Regions from separate parts of the Homo sapiens genome. Here region 2 is linked to region 1. Evidence: promoter capture Hi-C in 16 types of primary human blood cells and fetal thymus (Javierre and others, 2016). All regions are on one chromosome and are shown on one strand. Each heading gives the region's core, a stretch centred on a gene start or on the middle of the fragment in contact. The rest is flanking DNA. Distances are from core to core; before and after follow the strand shown.

Region 1 (3,863 bases), core at 361-2,860:
ACCAATATATCCTAAAGTGCCCAAACTGTGATTTTGAAAATCAAAGTATAGTTCAACTAATTCTCCCATAAAATAGGATAATACACCCATTTCCCTAGCTTGATATGAGAATTAAAAGAGAAACCATATGAATAGTACTTAGCCCCGTTCCTGCCACCGGGCACTCAATAAGGCACTTTAGTATAACATAGACGTTCAAACCCTGGCTCCACCAATTAACCATTGTGGTATATTAGGCAAATTATTGATTTCTTTTGGGCTCCCTTTTCTACTCTGTAAAGTGGGGATAATACCTGCCTTATAAATGTAGTTCTACAGAGAAAATGAGATAATGTAAAAAAAAAAACAAAAAAAAAAAGGACTGAGAACATCGCCTGGGTCATACAAAGTGCTCTGTAAATGTTAACTGCTATTAACAGTTAAGTAGCCCTGGTGGGCTTGAGAGGTGTGGTTTAAGAAAAGCCGATCTCCAAAGAGGGCGGGGCCAGAGAAACGGCCAATTTCAAATTTACACCCAGATTAGGACTACTGCAGGAAATAATTATGCCAGATTGCTCTCCTGGAGGATTTCAACGTTTTCCCGTTGTCTAATGGCTCTTAGCATGTGAGGAGTCGTGAGCCCCTCTGAAAAATTGATGAAAGGGGTGTGCTGTCTCAGAAAAGTGCACAGCCTTTGTACACAATTCCAAGGGGTCGACAGAGAGGTCTGAGAACCATCCACCAACTCTTCCCCCAAGAATTTACAGCTCCCAGAAAATGCACTCCTGGTCTAAGCCATGAAGACGGGCCTCGACCCCTGGGCCCTGTCCCCGATTTAGAGGACTGACTGCTGCCAAGCCTCGGAGCTGTAACCAAAACAAAAGCAGCTCGCGTCCGGCGCCCCAAAGAGGTAGGTATCTTCAGGCCACAGAAGCACCCACACAGTCCTGTGCTCTACTGGGCAGCGACCAAACTCGATCCTAGGACCCGTGTGCAAGAACAAGGAGTACAGAACTGCGGGCTCTGGATCATCCCTTAGATTTTATCACGGCCACTGGCCACCTCCGAGGAAGGGTTCAAAGCCAGACTAGGCAGCGGTCTCTGAGGGAAGGTTTTCCTGATGGTTCCAGGAACCAAGAAGAGAGGGAGATGTGTGAAGCGAAAGAGGGAGATCCCAAACATTTCGCTTAGGCACCCATGACTCAAAGTAAATGGTCAAGAAAGGTCATCGCAGCCCGAAATCCACCGCCTCCTCAGCATCGGGAGCGCGGGAGCCAGGGCGCCGGGCCGCGCGAAGGCTTCTGGGGGCTGTAGTCCCCCGCTCGGCCCTCACCGCGACGCCGGAGAGCTGGGAACGGCAGGTGAACTACAACTCCCAGAGGGTAGCCCGCCTCCGCGACGACCACAGATCCGCATCAAAAGAACTGGTCCAGAACTGCACATCTAAACCTAGGTTTTCTGCTCTCCACTATTTAATTCAGCTCCGTGAAGTAAACCTTAGGACTCGGGGTAGGGATCGCCTTACCTTCTCCGGGAGGCAAAGCCGCGTCCACGCGCGCCACCGCCATATTTGCTGCTTGCTAATAATACCAGGCAACCGTCCTCCCGCGGCTCTGTGGAGCTTGTAATCTGAAGGAGGGAGCCGGAAACTATAACTCCCAGGATGCACGGCTCCCAGACGGCCCAATTGGCTGCTTACGCCTAATGATGTGAAGCTGGAGTTAGAATCTGAGGGTAGTGAGCTCAGGGACCCTGGCCCACTCGCTTATTTGACAGATGAGTCAACTGCGTTATTAGATGATCATTTCACTTCCTTGTCCAGGCGTTTGCGAAATTTGACACTTTTACCATCGGGATGATTGTAAGGAAGCTACTTAATGCAGACTGCATTTTACAACTCATTGCTGGAAGTCTCTGTGGGGGCTGCTCCATTCTTTTGATAATTGTGAATAAGTTGAAAGTTTTCAACTCCGCTATAGGAATGACCGATCTTGTTGAGATCATAAAAGTGGATACATTTTATTTGAAATTTTAGTTAAGTAAAAGTAAAGTATGCCGAAATAGAAACTTTTATACAGTATTTTTAAGTGATTGTTTGATTGTTCTTGAATATTTGACAAATCTTTTGACTTACGGGTATAAGTATGAACCAAGAACTTTTCCAGGGAGTATTCAAAATAACTTTAAAATATAATCTCCAGGCCGGGCGCAGTGGTTCACGTCTGTAATCCCAGCACTTTGGGAGGTCAACGCAGGCTGATCACCTGAGGTCGGGAATTCGAGACCCGCCTGGCCAACATGGAGAAACCCCGTCTGTAGTAAAAATACAAAAAAATTAGCCTGGCGTGGCGGCGCATGCCTGTAATCCCAGGTACTCGGGAGGCTGAGGCAGGAGAATCGCTTGAACCCGGGAGGCAGAGGTTGCAGTGAGCCGATATCATGCCACTGCACTCCAGCCTGGGCAACAAGAGCGAAACTATGTCTCAAAAATATATATATTTTATATAGATATTGCATATATTATAATTATATATAAATTATATATTATATATGTTATATATTTAGATATTATATATTATATGTTATATATTTAGATATTATATATTATATATGTTATATATTTAGATATTATATATTATATATGTTATATATTTAGATATATTATATATGTCATATATTTATATATTATATATTATATATGTTATATATTTAGATATTATATATTATATATGTCATATATTTAGATATTATATATTATATATGTTATATATTTAGATATTATATATTATATATGTTATATATTTAGATATATATGTTATATGTTATATATTTATATATTATATATGTTATACATTTATATATTATATATGTTATATATTTATATATTATATATTATATATGTTATATATTTATATATTATATATTATATATGTTATATATTTATATATTATATATTATATATGTTATATATTTATATATTATATATTATATATGTTATATATTTATATATTATATATGTTATATGTTATATATTATATATGTTATATATTTATATATTATATGTGTTATATATGTTATATATTATATATTATATATGTTATATATATTATATATTATATATTATATATGTTATATATTATATATTATATATGTTATAGATTTATATATTATATATTATATATGTTATATATTTATATATTATATATTATATATGTTATATATTTATATATAAATATAGATTATGTATATAAATATATTTTTATATAGTCTCCAAATTCAAGAAATACATTGCCTAGTTGGAAGAAAGCAGGCTCACACTTTTTTCTTTTTTTTTTTTTAGAGACAATTTTTTTTTGCCCAGGCTGGCCTTGAACTCCTGAGCTCAAGTGATCCTTCTGCCTCAGCCCGGCAAAGTGCTGGGATTACAAGCGTGAGCAACGGCGCCGAGCCTTCTTTTGATGCAACTATTATATGCTAAACGGTGTGATTGTGACTGAGCTCACTAATATTTCAGGGAATTGAGAAAGAAATAGAATCTGAAATCTTCAGTGAAGACTTGATGGAGGAAGTAAATGTACCCATCTTTTGATGGGTAGACTGAACAGTTAGTTCTAAAGTAAAAGGTGAAAAGACAGCACAGGCTGCAGGTGGTAACGAAGTTGTGCTCACAGGAAGTGAGAAACTAAACAGAGTATACAAAAAACTTCTGCTTTCTACTACCAGCTCTCCCACTTCCTCTTGCAACCTTTATTCTGAACTCCCCTCTTTCTGAAACAGCAATCTGCAAAGTCTGATCATTTTTGCTTGGGAAAATCTAGTAATTCATGCTTCTAGATTTCCAGGCACTGGATTCTCTGAGCATTCCCCCTTTCCTGGGTTCTCCT
Region 2 (3,863 bases), core at 778-3,277, 510 kb before region 1:
GCCCCTTATCCTTGTTTTTTTCTTTGTAATTCTCTGGTTTTCTTTCCATCTTAACTCTCTGAATAACTTTGGAGCAGCCACCAAGCTGAAAGCAGAAGGCCAGATTGCTAGCAGCACCTCTCTAAATACTGTTTGGGCTACAGTGAGCAGTGGTGTGTGTCCAGTCTGTGCATGTGGTAAATTATGTGAAACAACCATCCCCAAGAGACCCATGTTACTATATCAGGAAGTTCACAGTGCATATCTGAAGGATCTCTTTGTTCATGAAGGCTTAAGCAAAGTTCAAAGAAAATCTGCTCCCCAGTGGATAATCTTAAATCAAAATCAGGATGCCACACGCTTGATTCATGAGCCTATAAAACCCTATGGGTCCTGACATATATGGACATACTCTTGGATTCCCAGTAATTCTTCTTTTGCTCTTTCCCCTAACAGCATCAACTTTCCTTAGGTCATCTTCACATCCCAGGAGTTTGTGCAGGAAAAATTTCAAAAGCCCCTCTTAGAGTGCATTTCTTTAAAAAATACTTGACTGTTTATTAGTATTCAAACAAACCTAATATCAGCCTTGAGTCCTCAGCTAAGAACAATTTCTTACTGATCTATTTTTGTCACATGAACTTAGAGATGACCTGCAATGCCAAGAAACCTAGAGAGATTGATATTGACCTCTCATGGCAAATATGTACTAGACATGATCCATCACATCTGCCCAATTCAACCCTGTATTAGTCTGGCTGGGCTGCTTTAACAAAGTGCCACAGACTGAGTGGCTTAAACAACAGAAATTTATCTTCTCACAGTTCTGGAAGTCCAAGAGCAAGGTACCAACATTGTTCATATATGATGAGGCCTCTCGTCTTGCAGACAGCACCTTCTCTGTGTGTTCACATGGTCTTTCCTTTTGGCACAGGCACTACTTCTGGTGTCTCTGCCACTTCTTGTGAGAACACCAGTCCTATTGAATTAGGACCTCAAGTTTATGACCTCATTTAACCTTAATTACCTTCTTAAGGGTCCCATCTCCACATACATTGGGATTAGGGCTTCACCATATGAATTCAAGGAGCCAAATTCAGCCCATAATAAACCCACACTTATCAAGAATATAATAAGAGAAGGATATGGTTCTAGACCTAGGAAATGCAGAAATGAATAAGACATTGTCCCTAGACTCAAAAAGTACAGACCTTAATATGGAAAGTCCGTGTGTGTACAATTATGTGGGGTGAAAAGTAAAAATATCGGAATCTAAGAGAGCGCTAAGATGCTAGAGAAGAGAGAGAGCCAGTGGATGCATTTATACAAAGGGTGTAATATAATAATGTGTCCTTTCTAATGATCATTCAAATAACAGTGTGGAAAGTGGACGGGGGTAATGAGACTGGAAGCGAGATGGAAACTTAATAGATTCTTATTAACCCAGAATGGGGAGGGAAGGCTTTAGCTAAACCAATGGAAATATGGTTGAAGACAAGGAGACAGATTTGAAAGACTTTCAAGAAGTAAAGGTAAGAGAATTTGGGGAAATTGATTATTTTTGTCACAAAGGACTTCTGAGAGAGAATTACTTTAATTTTTTAGTTTAACTTTTCTCACTTTACTCATTCATTAGCATTTCCACATCCCCTTAATTTACATCTCTATTAATATCAGTAGCAAATACCTTTAATTTAACATATTCTGACATAACATATTCTGATAATATATTTCTAATATATTCTGATAATCCTTCCCAAGTTTATACAAAATACACTTTAATTTTATATATTTCAACATGTTAGCTATTGTTAGTGGATACAGAGAGTAAAGGCCCAGTAAAAAATTCCCAACAGCTTTAGCTATAAATTACTTAATATACACTTAGAAATTACATCTCAAGTTTAACCTGTAAACTGTAAACTTATCCTACTCTGAAAGCCAAAATTAGTTGGTCATCATTATGTTTTCCTTCTGTGTCATGACACCACCATTCTACTGGGCACCCAGTCAGTTCTATGCCTTAGAATCACCATAGACTTTTCCTCTCCTCTGATTCTCTACGTCGTAAGTTACAGAGACCTGCAAGCCGTCCTTTACCTTCTAAAGTTTAAAATGCCTTCAGTATTCATCCTTTCCTTTTCAACACCAGCAGAATTCTTCCAATGCAATCTGCTTGCAACAACCACGTAGACCTTACAAAGACACAAGTCTGTCAACACACTCAGATTTAAGGCCTCACCTGACTCCCTCAGGCAGAGTTAGCACCTTCTGTTAGAGACTGCATCATAATTACCTGTTTATTTGCCTCCCTCTAACTAGACGGTAAGATCTTTAAGTACAAACCTCATACCTTGTTCGATCAAATCCACACCACACAGTTTCAGATCTTGTGTATACTTTGTTTGTCAGATTAATTAATTGATTAAGAGAGTCCTTGTGCTAATTGAGCTTACATTGGTGATTGCATTAAATATAGTGTTGCATAAGAATATGCTGTTTCCCCTGTTCATGTGTAAAGTACTTGAGCGCCAGGCCAAGGCATCAAATGTATTTATATCTGAGAGAACTTGAGGCAATGCCTTAAATCTACTAGATTTCCTTACTTACGCATTTCCTTACTTACCCTATATGAGTAAGTTTTATTCAGGAGGTCACATAAGGTGGCTATTTCTCAGATCCTCTTCCAAAATGCATTGAGCCGACATGAAGAATTAACTAGTCCCTGAACCCTACAGAACTTCCATCTCTGCTTTGTTTGGGAGCAAAGAGGGAAAAGGGGACTATGGTCATTGTAGGCGATCAGAAACCAAAGTTAAAAACTGAATTTTATAGCCAGAGCCAACTACTACTCTCCTATCTTCTTTGAAATGTTGTCTTGCTCTGGCTTCTAAAAAGCTGATGCCATCAGCTAACTGCCAACTGCCAAGTCATCAGATCATCTCAGAGCCAAAGAGTTAAGCTATGGAGTGAAAAATAAGCCCTGTCCTCACCCCACTCCCACTCCTTTTCTCTAAACTGAAAATGTTTTATTTATATAGGTTGCCTTACTGAAAGAGACACAAGCCATAGGGAACAATATTAAAGCAACTCTTATATTTTATAGGTTGCCTTTGCCTTGTAAGAAGCCATATTTTAACTTGGTACTATTGAAAATACCAGACTAAGTTCATATTCAACAAATGGGATCGAATGGATTGTTCAATGCAGTATCCAAACGGCTCATTCATAACAATGATAGAACATTTATTGAGTGTGTCCCTTGTGTATCAGGTACTAACTGCTTTATACACTTTCTGTCCTTTTGTGCACATTCTAGCATTTACACCTCACAACAATCCTATATGGTTACAAGTATTCCTATTTATGTATTAAAAAGATGAGACTGAGAGGCCCCATATCATGTCCAAGGTTACACAATTAGTGAACTAGGGTAGCTAGAATCAACCAGTTCAGTCTGATTTCTAAACCCATCACCTTACCACTACTCCTACCTAATCTTAACTGAGAAACTCAAATTCAAGGGGTAATTGTCAGTGCGGCCAAAAGGACTCAAAGTCACAGGATAAACATGTTGCATTTTCCTGGAGCAATTTTACTCAATGTCAAAGCAATTAAATGCGTTTTAATATATTAAAACAAGCATAAATACATGTTAGTAGAATGCAAATCTCACAAACATTTTTGAAATAAAATAGAAGGCACCACAAAATTCTCTCTTTGTGAGGCTGGACTGATTCAGGCTTTGTCTCAGACCCTGCCTGGCTCCTTTCCTTCCCTTCTCACTCCCAGGAGTATTTATTTGGTGCTGCACTTTATTAAAAAGCTGGGATGCACCAGGCATGGTGGCTCATGCCTGTAATTCCAGCACTTTGGTAGGCTGA

What was found. The method cuts DNA at HindIII sites, captures the fragments that hold promoters and counts their contacts. A CHiCAGO score of 5 or more calls a contact.
Region 2: a contact is called between a fragment that was not itself captured here and the fragment with the promoter of CEP97 in region 1, in 3 of 17 cell types (activated CD4 T cells, non-activated CD4 T cells and monocytes). The highest score is 7.6, in activated CD4 T cells.

What each region holds. Positions count from the first base shown.
Region 1 is chr3:101,722,361-101,726,223 of GRCh38, reverse strand. CEP97 (centrosomal protein 97) reads right to left here and starts at 1,610. Exons shown (of 11, transcript NM_024548.4): 1 at 1,505-1,610. The coding sequence starts at 1,547. RefSeq lists enhancers at 132-743, 915-984, 1,265-1,634, 3,771-3,830. The HindIII fragment of the contact is 6,095 bases long and covers 1-3,863 here.
Region 2 is chr3:102,230,456-102,234,318 of GRCh38, reverse strand. No RefSeq gene overlaps it. Among named protein-coding and RNA genes, the nearest start is that of ZPLD1, 200 kb to the left of the region's middle. RefSeq lists an enhancer at 38-117. The HindIII fragment of the contact is 6,217 bases long and covers 1-3,863 here.